Linked DNA regions of Homo sapiens: all the other regions are linked to region 4. The links are contacts of gene promoters, found by promoter capture Hi-C in blood cells and fetal thymus (Javierre and others, 2016). All regions are on one chromosome and are shown on one strand. Each heading gives the region's core, a stretch centred on a gene start or on the middle of the fragment in contact. The rest is flanking DNA. Distances are from core to core; before and after follow the strand shown.

What was found. The method cuts DNA at HindIII sites, captures the fragments that hold promoters and counts their contacts. A CHiCAGO score of 5 or more calls a contact.
Region 1: a contact is called between the fragment with the promoter of DMTN here and a fragment that was not itself captured in region 4, in 2 of 17 cell types (naive CD8 T cells and non-activated CD4 T cells). The highest score is 5.4, in naive CD8 T cells.
Region 2: the fragment with the promoter of NPM2 here is called in contact with a fragment that was not itself captured in region 4 in 4 of 17 cell types (naive CD4 T cells, total CD4 T cells, naive CD8 T cells and 1 more); the score reaches 15.7 in naive CD4 T cells.
Region 3: the fragment with the promoter of BMP1 here is called in contact with a fragment that was not itself captured in region 4 in 7 of 17 cell types (naive B cells, naive CD4 T cells, total CD4 T cells and 4 more); the score reaches 11.4 in naive B cells.
Region 5: the fragment with the promoter of REEP4 here is called in contact with a fragment that was not itself captured in region 4 in 9 of 17 cell types (naive CD4 T cells, total CD8 T cells, total CD4 T cells and 6 more); the score reaches 23.8 in naive CD4 T cells.

Annotation. Positions count from the first base shown.
Region 1 is chr8:22,055,545-22,058,244 of GRCh38, reverse strand. DMTN (dematin actin binding protein) reads right to left here and starts at 1,431. Exons shown (of 16, transcript NM_001387751.1): 1 at 1,109-1,431. RefSeq lists an enhancer at 1-313. The HindIII fragment of the contact is 49,236 bases long and covers 1-2,700 here.
Region 2 is chr8:22,022,884-22,025,583 of GRCh38, reverse strand. NPM2 (nucleophosmin/nucleoplasmin 2) reads right to left here and starts at 1,450. Exons shown (of 10, transcript NM_001286680.2): 1 at 961-1,450; 2 at 754-860; 3 at 278-368; 4 at 63-148. The coding sequence starts at 335. RefSeq lists enhancers at 936-1,648, 1,649-2,362. The HindIII fragment of the contact is 16,503 bases long and covers 1-2,700 here.
Region 3 is chr8:22,164,122-22,166,821 of GRCh38, reverse strand. It overlaps BMP1 (bone morphogenetic protein 1), which reads right to left and starts at 1,450. Exons shown (of 20, transcript NM_006129.5): 1 at 1,269-1,450. The coding sequence starts at 1,416. SFTPC (surfactant protein C) reads right to left here. Exons shown (of 6, transcript NM_001317778.2): 6 at 2,343-2,556. RefSeq lists a silencer at 1,155-2,194. The HindIII fragment of the contact is 3,783 bases long and covers 671-2,700 here.
Region 4 is chr8:20,435,382-20,438,081 of GRCh38, reverse strand. No RefSeq gene overlaps it. Among named protein-coding and RNA genes, the nearest start is that of LZTS1, 130 kb to the right of the region's middle. The HindIII fragment of the contact is 2,730 bases long and covers 38-2,700 here.
Region 5 is chr8:22,140,637-22,143,336 of GRCh38, reverse strand. REEP4 (receptor accessory protein 4) reads left to right here and starts at 1,430. Exons shown (of 8, transcript NM_025232.4): 1 at 1,430-1,886; 2 at 2,640-2,700. The coding sequence starts at 1,855. RefSeq lists silencers at 1,387-1,516, 1,527-1,676 and an enhancer at 2,441-2,700. The HindIII fragment of the contact is 1,867 bases long and covers 1,047-2,700 here.

The DNA of each region.
Region 1 (2,700 bases), core at 182-2,681, 1.6 Mb before region 4:
TCTAACGCCTGACCACAGAGAGGCCGGCAGCACGGACACAAGATGGACAGGTGGGCACAGGCAGAAGCGCCCGCGCTGAAACCGTTGCAGGACGCATGCACGCGGGGAGACTCCGAAGCCCTGTGTGCCAGCTCATGCCCCCACTCTCCCATCGAGGCCCCCTCACTGTGACACATGGTGCTGCCAACACCCGCTCACACCCACCCACCGGTCCTCTCCCTGGCATCCATCCCAGAGTAGTGCACGTGTACAGCAACATACACAGAGCCCTCCACTTACCCAGCTCTGGAGGCCTTCCCTGGGCTCCCCATTCCCACAGCCCAACTGCCTTCCTTGTCTTGGACCTGTCCCTGCTCCCCTGACTCTCACAACCAGGCAACTGGTCCCTGGAAGGGACACACTGGGTGTGTCTGCCCAAGAAAGGGGGCTGGACCTGCTAGGCCCTGAGGGACAGAGCTAGGGAGGGGGAGCCCCAGAACCCTGTGGGGGCTGCATGTCTGCTCAGCCCTGGCCCCTTCAAGCACCCCAGCGGCGGGCACAGGGGGAGTACTGGGCTTGGGCTTGCAGCTGCGCCCTGCCACAGCCTCACTCTTCACTCAGCCCCACCCCAGCCTGGCCAGCCACTGGCTGGGGGCAGGCTCTCCTCCCACTCCCCCTAAAAAGCAGGCTCCAAACAAACAGCCTCAGGCCCCTAAATGTACTGCTCCAACCCCCAGAGCATGTGGAGTGGTTTTGGGGAGGCCAGCGGGCCAGTATTCAGCAGAGAGGGAATGCTCCCCTGCCCACCCCGTGCCCCCACAGTCCATCCCTTCCATTGCTGGCCTGCTCAGCTAGGTAGGCCAGGCAGAGATGCTGGCAAAGAGGGGATTGGGCTGGGAGCAGTTCTCATCCTTGGGATGAGAACACCCCAGGCCCTCTTCCCCAGATCAGAAGGTTCCATTAGATCAGGCCCAGCTGGTCCCAGGGGCCGGCCCATCCTCCCACTGAACAGGGCCCACAGTGGGCTCCCCCCAGATACCCTGCTGCCACCCAAAGCCTGGCTCGCCAGCAAGCGCTGTGGCCCAGAGTGCCCACAGAGGGGAGGAGAGGCGGAGACCCTGCCACCTACCTCTTCCCAGACAGTGTGGCCCAGACGCTCTGAGGCCACAGAGGCCCGAGAGGCGTAGGCCAGATCCACGGGCTGTCACTTCCCCCAGGAGCCTAGGTAATAGGTGTCTCTTCCAGGAACCCCGCGGCGCTTCCCCGGAGCACAAATAACAGGAAAAATGCCGGCTTAGGGTGGGTGGGCGGGGTGGGAGCTGGCGAAGGAGGGGAGCTGGTCTCGGCTGAGCGGTCTGATCTCCCCTCTGGGCCCCCACCCTCCTTGCCCCCACCCTGCTTCTCTGCAACGCACGGCCGCCTGGATCCCCCGGTGCTGGGGAGTCCTCGTCTGGGGGCGGGAGGGCGGGCGGGCTGCTGGCTCCCCCACGCCCTCCCCGCGCCCTCCCCACTTCCAGCTGATAGCGTGTGGCTGGCAAGGGTGTGTGTGTGGATGTGCGCGCTCTTCCACCAGCGCTGCAGCTCAATCCATTTCAAACAAGAGGAGCATTAACCCAGCGTCATGACAAAGCAGAATCAGCCAGCACTGTCCTCTCCCTTTCCCACACCGCAGTCTGCAGCACTCACACGCACACACACACCCACACGCACCCAGAGCCCCTCAGCCTCCTCCTAAACAGCCAGAGTTCAAGTTGCTGTGGGCGGTGGGTCGAGGGAGGGGGCTACTGATGACCCAGGCGGACAATGCCTGCTTTCTCCAGGCACCTGCACCTCCTACCCTATTCATGACCACCCCACCATCTGACAGCAGCAACTGAGGCCTCTGGGGCCCAGCCTCTTGAGGTGGGGGTGCAGGCACAGGCCAGAATTGGTTACCCAAGGATGAGCTCTCTCCTGGGAGGGTAGAATGGAGGGATGCAACCAGGTCCTCAGTACTGAGACTTGAGCTGGCCCCTCAGTAACCTGAATCCCCTGGGAACTCCAATGGGATGCAGCAGAGAGAGAGAAGGACCCCATCTCTCCCTAGGGTGGCTTCATGAAAAAGGAGCTTCCTGCCTGGTAACCCCTGGGTCCCAGCACAGAATTTACAGGCATGTGCCTTCCCTGTCTCTAGCAAAGCCTCAACCACCCCAGGAGCCTCTCATTGGCCTTTCGGGCCCCCTGGGCAGGATGGGGAAGGACAACAAGCCTTGCCCTCGACCCTCGCCCTGGCCCCAATGTCCTCTCCACCTCCACACCGCAGACTTGCCTACCTAGGCAGCCCTCACCGTTGCCCTGGCAACCCTGCCCCCAGCCGGTCAGCTGATGGTATCAGCTGTTGTTGGGGAAATCTAGAATCTGGGGAGGGGGCTCTGGGGTGTCTGAATGGAGAAGCACAGGGGGAGGGGCTTGAGGGAAGAGGCCAGGAGGGGACAGAAAGTATCTGGCTGGTGGGGACAGAGAGGACAGTAACCTGAGGGATGGGCTCCAGAGAGAAGGGAGGAAGGAAGGAGGCAGGTGGCTGAGAAGGGAGACAGAACACAGGCTGAGCTGCTGCAGCCAGGCGGGGGTGGCTGTGAAGGTAGAGAAAACCTGGGGGTGGGGGATGAAGCATCAGATCCATGGAACTGCAGAGAAAAAGGCCAGGAGAGTGATGTGGGAGGGGGCATACCTTCAATGTGG
Region 2 (2,700 bases), core at 201-2,700, 1.6 Mb before region 4:
CCTCCGTTGGGACCAGAAAGTTCCCGGACACCATCTTCCTCCCCTCTTTTGGGAACACCTACCGTATGAAGCAACAGCCTGCAGCTCTGCTTCCCCTCCAGCTGGGGTCTGAAGGTCCAAGTCCGCCTCTCCTGACTGAGCTCGCAGCCTGCGGAGGAGAAAGGGAGGGAAGTGGGGCCCTCCATTCGTTCCCAAAGGAGGGGCTCACCTGCGCCCCAAGCTGCCGCGCACCGGAGGTGGGGCGTGTCTCTGGGAAGGAGCCTGAGTCCCCACTCACCCCAGAGCACGGTCGTCACTGCCTTTTCCTCCGTGCTACTGGCGCTACTGAGATTCATGGCTCCGGGCAGAGAAGCGGGCTGGCCGGGCAGCTGCAAGGAGGGCGCCCGCGTGAGGCCTTGCTCCCTGACCCTGACCCTCGACTGGAGGATGCCAGAGACCAGCAGGCATCGGCAGGTACTGAGGGGTCGCTCGCGGCTGGAGGGGACCTGCCACGGTCAAGGGCTCACCGGCAACTCCTGGAGGACGAGTACCCACCTCCTAGCGGGGTGCGCAGCCCGGGGCTCGACCGGGCGCGTACAGGACAGCGGGACTCACGGGAGAGGGAGCTGTCCACCGAGCTCAGGCTTGAAAGGCCGCGGGGAGGTCACCTGGCTGCGCTTGGGCCTGACTCAAAAGCCTCTGTGCACCTCCACCAGACGCAGAGAAAGGGGTGTGCGCGCGGCTTAGGTCCCAGCTCCCCCCACACAGCCTTACTGTCGCTGCTCCGCGCGGGGCCAGTCACGCCATCGGCGCTCCCGGAGCGCAGCGCAACCTCATCCCCTCTGGCCGGAAGGCGGCTGTCCAAGCCCGGGCTAAGAAGCCTGGGAAGGGGAAGGGCAGGTGTCCAATTAGTCGCAAAGAAGCCGCCTCCCTCTCCCCTTCCCTTCTCCCATTCTTTCCTCCTCTGCGCGGCAGAATCACCTGGAGGGCTGTTAAGGGGCGCATTGCCGCGCCCCACTCCACAGCTGCCCTTGGCGTCGGTCTGGGTGGGGCCGAGGGAATTTGTAGTTCTAACCAGTTCCCAGGTGAGGCTGATGATGCCGGCCCAGGACCTTTCGTGAGAAGCTGTCCCGGCCAATTGCGGACCCGCCGAGGCCTCCTGGCGCCCCCTCCCCAGCCCATGGAGAGGAAGCCTCAGCTCAGCTTAGGAAGGGAGGCCTGCAGCCGGCAGGAAGCTGCAGTTGGAAGCCCTCCTTCTTGTTCGTTGCCTTTCTTCCTTTCCTTTCCCCATGCCTTATACAGCATGGGCCTTTCCTAAGGCCCAGACAGCCCGTTCTTCCAGCCTACCGTGAGAGCGAGCGAGCCCTGTCTCCAGAACGGTGAGATCTCCCGCGGAGAGCCGCAGCGGGCAGGTGGGGTGGGGAGGTGAGCCGGGAGGCGAGGCGCCGCGGCAGGGGGCGGGGAGCACACTGAGGAGCACGGCTAGCGACGCTACAGGGCCAAGCACGTGACCAGCAGCTGGTCCCAGGCTCAGTGGGCAGTGAAGAGGAAGTGGGGTTTCAGCGGATATACCCTGGAGACACCTCAGATAACCAGGGATCTCCCGCACACCCCTGGGACAGGGGCTCATTGCCACGGAGAGGTCAGAATCTTTTATTCCTGGAAGCTGGGGTCAGCCTCCCTGTGAATTGGCCAGGACAACCCAGGAGAGGCTTGGGGGCCTGCCAGGGCCCCCTAGGCTCCCTATCCCCAGCTGAGCAGTTCCAGTCTCCTTGGCTGTCCCTGAGCTCTCTGTCCCTGGCAAGGCGCCTATTGAAGGTGACAGCCATTGCAGCCAAGTGTGTGGTAAAGATGAGCAAATGGCAGGCACATGCATGCCATGCACAGACGTTCAAGAATTCACTCAACAAACGGTGATTCCGCCAATTGGGCGGGACCTGGGCATCCCGCGGTGAATACGACAGCCCCTCAAAGGGCTTCCAGCCTCATTGGAGAGCAGTGCTCAAAGCAAACCGGCCTTCAGTGGCCCCAGGCTACCCACCCCGTGAATAATCACACTGATGTCAGGCTGCAGCTGGGGGTCACAGTGAAGGCTAAATGGAGGCAGGGGAGGGGGATGACCCTGAGGTCATGACCTAGAGCTGGGACACTGGAACTGGACAGTCTGGGTTCAAGTCTGGACTGTGCTCTGTGATTTCAGGTGTGTTAATTCATAGCTCAGTGCCTCAGTTTCCTCATCTGCTAAATGAGGCTATAATATTGGTACCATCGTCATTAACTTTTTAAACTGATACATATTAATTGTACATATTTATGGGGTACATATGATATTTTTATACTTGCACACAATGTGTAATGAGCAAATCAGGGTAACTGGGGTACCTTCAACATTATTTCTTTTCTTTTTTTTTTTTTTTTGGAGATGGCGTTTCACTCTCATCACCCAGGCTGGAGTGCGGTGGTGCCATCTCAGCTCACTATAACCTCTGCCTCCCATGTTCAAGCGATTCTCCTGCCTCAGCCTCCCAAGTAGCTGGGTTTATAGGTGCTTACCACCATGCCCAGCTAATTTTCATATTTTTACTAGAGATGGGGTTTCACCATGTTGGCCAGGTTGGTCTCGAACTCCTGACCTCAGTGATCCTCCTGCCTAGGCCTCCCAAAGTGCTGGGATTACAGGCATGAGCCACTGGGCCCGGCTAAACATTTATCATTTCTTTG
Region 3 (2,700 bases), core at 201-2,700, 1.7 Mb before region 4:
ATGTCCTGGTTTACCCGCAGCCCAGCAGGTGTAGAGGGGTAAGGGCTGAGGGATTTGCCCTGATTTCCTCCATTGGATGGTCTCTTATTCCTGCCTGTGGGCCACCCTCCCAGGAGAGTCCCTGAACAGGGTCTCCAGAGCCAGGACTAGAGCAACCTGCCCCTCCGCCCCTGGTGCCCCACACAGGCAGTCCAGTTCTAGCAACTATGCCACTTCCCCTGGCTCTGGCTATTTGGAGATGAGCTGAAGTCAGAGAGGCAGGAAGTCAAGGAAAAGTTCTGATATCTTGTCCCTGTGTGTCCCCAAACAGCCTGCCCAGGGTCATCCAATCAGGCAAATGGCCCGAGTGCCTGGCCATCTGGTCACTCCAGGGGCAGGACCCTTCTGGGCTCAGCAGGAGTGATGGGGTTACATAGAGTCTTCAGAGACAAAGAACACACACACATACAGGCAAACACACACTCCGGGGTCCTGACCTCAGCTAATTAGCCTCTGGTGTCTCGGGGGTGACAGAGCTGATATACAATATCTGGGTTCTCTTTGTATTTTCCCTCTTTCCACCCCAACTTGGCCTTGGCGGGGGTCTCTGGGCACATAGGGACAAAGTTAAGTCCCCCTTCTGGGTTGGCTTCTCTGACTTTGACAGCTGTCTCCTAAGTCCCAGAAAGCTTCAGCTACTGGTTAAACTACGGGATACCCAGAGAGCACGATCTCAGGGAATCCCTGGAAAAACTTTCTTCTTCCACTTGGGCTGGGTGGTGGCTGGGGGACCTGCTCCTTGGAGACTCAGGCCTCCCAGATCCAAGCCAGACAGATGTGCAGCCCCAGGGCAGCCCAGACAGGCTGGAAAACACCCAGCTCCTGGAGCAGGAGAGATGGGGGAGAAGGGGAAAGAACACACACACACACACACACACACACACACACACACACACACACGCACGCACAGGAGTTTGGCCAGAAAAGTTTCCTACAGAAGGAAAAGCCGCCTTGCCCGCCGGTTTTCCCGGGACGCAAGGAGACTTCCTCTGGAATCCTCTGGGAAGATGAGAGGCAGCGGCAGCAGCTTCCACCAACAGCGGCAAAACTTCAGTCCGAAAAGTCCCCCAAATCCCCCTCCCTCTCCCCCTCGTTCTTTTGTTCCCCACTGCATTGCCAACCAGGCAGCTCCCGGCTTCCCACACTGGACTGTCCTCCCCCAACCCCAAGCCCGAACCCGCCCGCGCCTCCCCGCCTGGCCCGTCGCCGGGGGGCCGGGGGGCGCTCACCCGCCTTGCAGGGGTCTTTGTAGTTGAGGGGCTCCGAGTCGTCCTCCTCCGCCAGGTCATAGGTGTAGTCGGCCAAGTCCAGCGGCCGGCCGGGACGCGGGAGCAGCAGCAGCCCGAGCAGCAGCGGCAGGCGGGCCACGCCGGGCATGCTGGCGGGGCGGCGGCGAGGGAAGCGGCGCACTGGAGGCCAGGGGAGGGCGTCCTCTCGCCCGCTTGCTTGCTCGATCGCGACCGCGACCGCTCCCGCCCTCGCTCCCCGACCTCTTCCCCTTCCCTCTGCTCGCCTCCCTCCTTCCTGTCTCCCGCCCCCCGCTCGGTCCGCGGCTCCGCGCTCGTCCTCGGGCTCCAGCCGTCTCCCTCTCCCTTTCCTTCTTTTTCTCTCTTTCTTTCTCTCCCTCCCTCCCTCCCTCCGACTCCCCCCCCCCTTTTTAGGGAAATGAGCTCGCTGGAGGGCGGGTTTTCGCCCGAGCTCTGCCCCCCTCGGGGCCGGGACAGTGCTCGGCCGGGCCGGGCCGCGCGCCAGCCGGGGCGGGGAAGGCGGAGAGCCGCGCGCCCGGGGAGGGGGCTCGGGCCGCCCGGGCCGCGGGCCGCGGGCCGCGAGGCCGGGGCTGGAGCTCGGGCCCCGGGGTGCCGGGAGGGCTGTCCCTCCTGAAGTGCCCTCTAGCGGCGGCCTCCCCCGCGGGCGCGCGGCCGAGCCCCCGCCCCGCCGCGGGACACGCTGTCAGGTCCTCGCGCCGCCCCTGCCCCGCGCCCCCGCCTCGGGTCGGTCTCTCCGCCCGCGTCTCCCTATCTCCCCTTCTTGGACCCTCGCTCTCTCGCGTCTCGCTCTCTGCGCTCTGTCTCTCTCGCTGTCTTGGTGTCTCTCCCTCCTCCGGAGACGCCGCTGGAGGGCGCCGAAAGCCCGTGGATGGCTCCCTGCGAGCCCCTCTCCCCCGCCGAGGTGGACCCAGTGCCCCAGCGCCCTGGGACAGAGGGCGAATGGCAAACCCCACTTTGCTCTCCCAAGGCCCTTCCCTTCTTGGCCGGCCCCCGCCAGGGCAGGACTGCGCCCTGCAGGAAGACAGAAGCAGACCCTTTGCTTTTCAATCAGGCTGCTTTATTCTGTTGTGGCAGGAGTTCCCGGGCCCCTGGGCGCCACCTCTGCCCACTCCCATCCTCTCCCCAAGCTCCCATTTCTCCAGGGCTTGTCCCTGCGGTGTGGGCAGAAGCAGCTTCTTGCCCGTCTGCAAAAGCTGCAAAAGACCCTTTGCCCGGGGCGTTTCCTTTCCCGTTGGGGCTTCCACTGACCCTGTGAAGCAAAGGAATGTTGAGGATGGACAGAGAGAATCAGGGGAGTGGGAAGTACCGGTCTGTGAGCTTCCCCTCCCCCGAGTTGCCTGGATGACCCCGCTTCAGTGGACGCCCCAGCGCCTGGTCAGCGCGAGCGCTCCTC
Region 4 (2,700 bases), core at 153-2,652:
CTGTGCTGCTGCTATCACAATGTTGAAAGATGAAGCTTCATTTCTGCACAGCTCCAGCACCCATAGGCTTCAAGGAAAAGCAGCTATGGTGGCACATTCAAGGACTCTGTGCTGTTCATGCCCAGCTCCTTGCCCTATCTGTGATCTACGTCCATGACATGACCTCTGTCACAAACTCCTGAAGTCCCATCAGTCCAGAGAAGACAGAACTACTCTTTCTTTCAGACTCCCACAGCATTTTTATGCACCCCTATTACCATAAACAGCACATGATACTGTAACTGCTGGTTTCATTGTCTCTGTCCCCACTGGGGTCAGGAATCATGTCTTCCTCATCACCTGTGCTAAGTAGGTGTTCAGTGACTGTTCACTGACTGATAACTGACTCATTCTTTTGCCAGATACCTGAGTGTTCCTGACCCCTGGCTCTTATTCCACAAAGGATCCTATCTCTCTGACAACCTGATTTCCAGAGACACCAAAGATCAGGCTACTCTTGAGCCTGGCCCTGGCCCTAAAAGCCTGGCTTTTAGGAAGCATGAGGGTTCCGACATGCATGTTTTACTGTGCTCCTGCACCCTGGGGATGTTTCTCCTTGTCCTACCTGGCTTCACCACCTCCACATTTGAGCACTGGTATGGTGGCTTGGACTGGCCTAGTGTCCCCCACCCTGCTCACATAGCCTGGGCCCAGTTTGCAGGGCCTCACAGGACAGGCACAGGGCTTGGTGTGAGATGGCAGGAGCTCATCTTCAGGTCCCCAGTATAGGAATAGTGTCATCTCTTGCAACTCACCTACCAATGCCACTCCTCAGTTTGCTCAACTGTAAATGGATGAAATGATACCAACCTGAGAGTTGTTCCAAGACCAGCAATGGAAGCAAACGTAAGAGCCCTTGAAAAGAGAAAGCTGTTTCATAAAAACAGTGTGTGGTTCAGACAGCCCCGCCTGCCACCACGGCAGAAAGCCAGAAAGCACCCGGATGTGTCACCCACACCACTGTTTGGCTAAGACTGACTCTACATGCTCTCTCCACCCCAGAGGACACCTCCGTCCAGGCAGGGGGATTGCTGGCAGGGTGCCGTCTACACTGACATCCTCAGACTGCAGAGATTCCCACAAGTGGGCTGGTCTGGGAGGAGAGGAAGATGTAGGTGTTTCTTAGGTATTGTCAAATAAGAGGATCAGCAGAATAGGAAGTGGCAGAGAGCAGAGACTGTCTGTGTTATTTCAAGATTGTGATCACATCTCACACGCTCTGCTGAGCCAGTGAACAAAACAGCCCTTGGAAAACTGGTGCTTGGCGTGGGCGGCGCTTGCCAACCCGCCGGCAACCCTGGCTCTGCTCCATTCACTCACCAGGAAAGCTGACCTCCCCTGAGGACATCCATTGCTGGCCTCCATGTCCTTGGGGATCCTAACACCCATCCATTCAATTCAACGTCTAGTGAACCTTTACCAAGGCCAAGCATGATGCTGATCCCTGCGAGAGCCCTAGGAAAGAAGCACCCACCATCCTTGCCCTCAATCACCTCCCAGTCATGAGCCATAGTTGAGAGTTATCTCAACTAACACTTCCAGCCAGTCACTATCCTGCTCAAGAACTTGCAATAGCTCCCTACTACGTTGGTATCAAGAATCAACTCCTCAGCCTGACTTTTAAGCACCCACACTCAACCTAGGCCCACTTTCTCTTGCTGACTGTAACATGAACCCTCAATCGCTACAGGTAAAATATCCTAATTGTGCCAGGACCTTCCTGTCTTGTCTGTCACCCTGTAGCTTATTATTATCTAAACCCTCAAGACTTACCTCAAATTCTATTAGCCTAATGCTATCTCTCTCTTTTTTTTTTTTTTTTTTTTTTTCTGAAGTCCAATTCCACTGATAGTAAGCCATGGTCTTGCACTAAATTATTCTCCAAATCTCTCTCTCTCTCATAAGGTTCTGAAGTGCAGAGATGATTCAATTAAACACAATTCAACAAATATTGACTGAACTCCCACCATCTTCCCCTGCCTGTATTTGTGGATGGGTTGACTGACAGGCTGATCCAGCCTCCAGGCTATTCTGGGCAGAGGGACAGCTTTCATGATAGGAAATTTAAACTGCAACCTCATGCAAACCTCCGCACTATGCCCTGCCTCATTGACCCCAGGACACCCCTGAAATCAAATGAAACCACAGCCCCTCCTCAGTGCCACCTTGAGAAACAGGAAACCATTTGTTCTCCCTGTATGAATACCTAGCATCCCAAAGGTCACACCTGAGCACAGCAGGAACCAGGTGTGGTAACGCCCAGACCAGTGCTCCACCCTCACCTGGCCAGGACTTCACAGAGTAGCTGGGGCCCCAGTGGCCGGTCCCTACTGGAGAGCAGGCTGAGCCCTGCGTGGGGGCAGCACAGCATCCTGCACTCACCACACCTCTTTCCTCACGTGCGGCTTCAGACCAACCCCATTTCTCAAACGCCTCCCTCCCCTGCCTACCTATGCGTTTGTTTCCTGCCTCTTCTTTCGCCACCCTCCCCCCATCACCAGGCCTTCCGTGGCAAGAGATGCTGGGAGAGGCTGCCGGCGGGGTTGCGGGCTGCTTGCTTTGCGCACGTTTGGCTATTGCCATCTAGTGGCCATAAGGCATAAACCCGTCCCCACTCCAGGCCTTGCAAATGCCCCTTTCCCCTTTTTAAAAAGTGTGGGA
Region 5 (2,700 bases), core at 181-2,680, 1.7 Mb before region 4:
AGTTCCTCTAGCCCTTGGCCTTTTTGGTTACTCCAATGTGTGTGTGTAAGGGGGGACAGGTAAATGTGAGGGTTGGTTAAGAGAGGAGAGGGAGACATGGGGCCTCGGGGAAGTTTCTCCTGTGGGCTGGTTTCACTGCTGGCTCTCACACCCAGCAATACCAATAAAACTGATGACAGTAATTAAGACCATATAATCACCGTGTGTTTATTTATCCCCCAGAAGCCTCCTTTCCCTGGCCCCATGATTACCTATTCCATCCTTATGATAGCTGGTGGGGGTTAACTGTGGCTCCAATAAAAAGCAGTAACTGCCTGTGTTTCCACCCCACATGCCCGGACAGCTTTGCTCCCACCCTCTGCAAGGTGGGGGGACACTATTTTCAGAGGGAACAACAGAGGCAGTAAGCTGAAGATGTCAAAAAGAATGAAACCTCACAGGGCAAGTAGTAGAAGCAGCAACGTTTGCCTTCTTTTTTAGAGCCTTCCCCCTTCTTCCTGGCATCTGCCTCCCTCCCAGAGGAACTTATCCGGTTCCATGGCCCTCTGCAGGGCCACTCAGCCTGCAGCTGCTGATCTCTCAGAAGACTGATCAAGCCAAGCATGTAGCCACCAGCCAGCAATAAATACCACTGGGTGATACCAGGAAAGTTACTTTTCACCACTGAGCATCCTATTTCCTACATGGTTAAAAGAAGTTTGCAAAGACTAAGACCTTGCGTGCAAACGTGCATTACAAAATGGCAATGGTTGATACTACTATTAAGGGCCCAGGGTTATTTGTGTACTTGGCTCAGAGGAATAGGTGGAATTTCAAACTTCTGCTGAAGGAGTGTGGGAGCTGAGAGCTCTACCCAGAATGCCTCAAATCATCGCGGTCAGCCTGCCCCGGAGTCAGGGATCTGGAAAGGCATCCCAGAGAGAAGGGAACCCCTGAAACCTGGTGGGGCAAAAAGTCCCTCAGGTTCCCTCTCCCCCCACACCTCCCCCCTTTCCCTCCTGGACCCACTGGTGTGAGACCCGGACTTGCTGGCGCTCAGCCAAGCTTCCTTCCAGCTCCTGACTGAGCCTGCAGAGGAGATCCTTCCCTCTACCCCACCAACCGCATCTCATGCCTTTACCCGGTTCACAGAGGGGAAAATGAGGCGAGAGGGAAAGACACCGGGAAAAGCCAGTGAAGGGTCGCTTAAACTCTGGAGTCCAGATTTTCTTTGTGTGCCGACCCCCGCACTCCCCCTGCTTTTTTGTTACAGCTTCCCACACGCTAATCTTTCCGATTGGGAAGGTGGCTCCACTGTGGGCCCCACGCGCGAGTCCCGCGGCACATCGCCCCTTTAAGGGGCCGGCCTCTCGCCTCCCTGACCTCGCCCCGCCCCCTCCGGGGCTACACTGCGCCTGCGTGGCAAGCCGGAGCCCTGGGGTTGGGCAGCACTCGGTTCCGTGCAACTTTCAAGTGAGTTGCGAACTCCGCCCTGTAGGCCGGTGCTGGTGGCCCGGCGCGCTGGAACCGCGGCGACCCGCTCCAGCGCGGGACCAGCAGCAAGGGCCGAGCGCCAGGTTCTCCGCGGCAGAAAGGGCGGGTGGGAGCTGTAACTGCCCCGGCCGCGGGGCGCGCCCGCTCCCAAGTCGGCTTCCTCCCCGCCGGGGCCGCTTTGCCTCGGGTCTCCCCATTCTCCAGGTCCCCTGAACTGCACAGTCGGAGGCCGTGGGCGGCGGGCTCTGCCTCCGCCGAGGGACAGCCGGATCGCCCCTCTGCTTCCCGCAACTGCCCTGATCACCCCCCGTCCCAGCCCTTGAGTGAACGTCCTTCTGAGCGGCTTCCTGGGGTCCTCCCCACGTCCCAAAGGCCGGCAAGATGGTGTCCTGGATGATCTGTCGCCTGGTGGTGTGAGTATGGCCGCCCTCAGACCTCCTCTACCCCGGGGTGCCGTCCCGCCCCTGTGGTGGAAGCTGTGGACGTCTAGTGGGAGGAGGAACTTTCTGAGCTCCACCCTCCAGCACTCCATGCAAGGGTTAACGGACCTGTGGGCTTGCACGCGGTGTCTGGGGCACCGCAGGCTACCCGCCCCACCAAGCCTCGTTGGCTGAGAACGACCCCTGCCGCACGCCACACACACTGCAAACAGATGCGTGGAGCCGAGGGCCACAGGCCTACCTTGCTGCCCCTTGGCAAACACAAGGTGATATGGCACGTTGTGGGCGGAGAATCCAGGTGCCTGCTTGCCATCTGAGCAGTCACATGACTCACCATCCTATTCCTCACCTTTGAGTATGCCAACATCTGGCTCACATAGCCCTATCTGCAACCCAGCAGTGTCAGGTCTGGTGACCCTGGGCCTGATTGCATGCCCATGGGAGGGGACAGTCTGGTGTTCTCACCCACTTCGTGGAGTGGCTGTCCTCTCACTCCATCATGCACCCATGGGCCACCGGTGCAGGCCTGGGCAGGCTTGGGATGTTTGTAAACAGCAGGGTGGGGAGGTGGCCTCCAGGGCTCTGACTCAGGCACGGGTTGTACAAGCCAAGCGAGAAAAACAGGGCGGGTACTGCCACCTTGCACCCCAGTGGGGGGAAATGGCCACTTGGCAAGGTGGGAGTGGGGCATGGTGCCCCTCACACTCCCCATGGCTGCTCTTCCAGGCTGGTGTTTGGGATGCTGTGTCCAGCTTATGCTTCCTATAAGGCTGTGAAGACCAAGAAC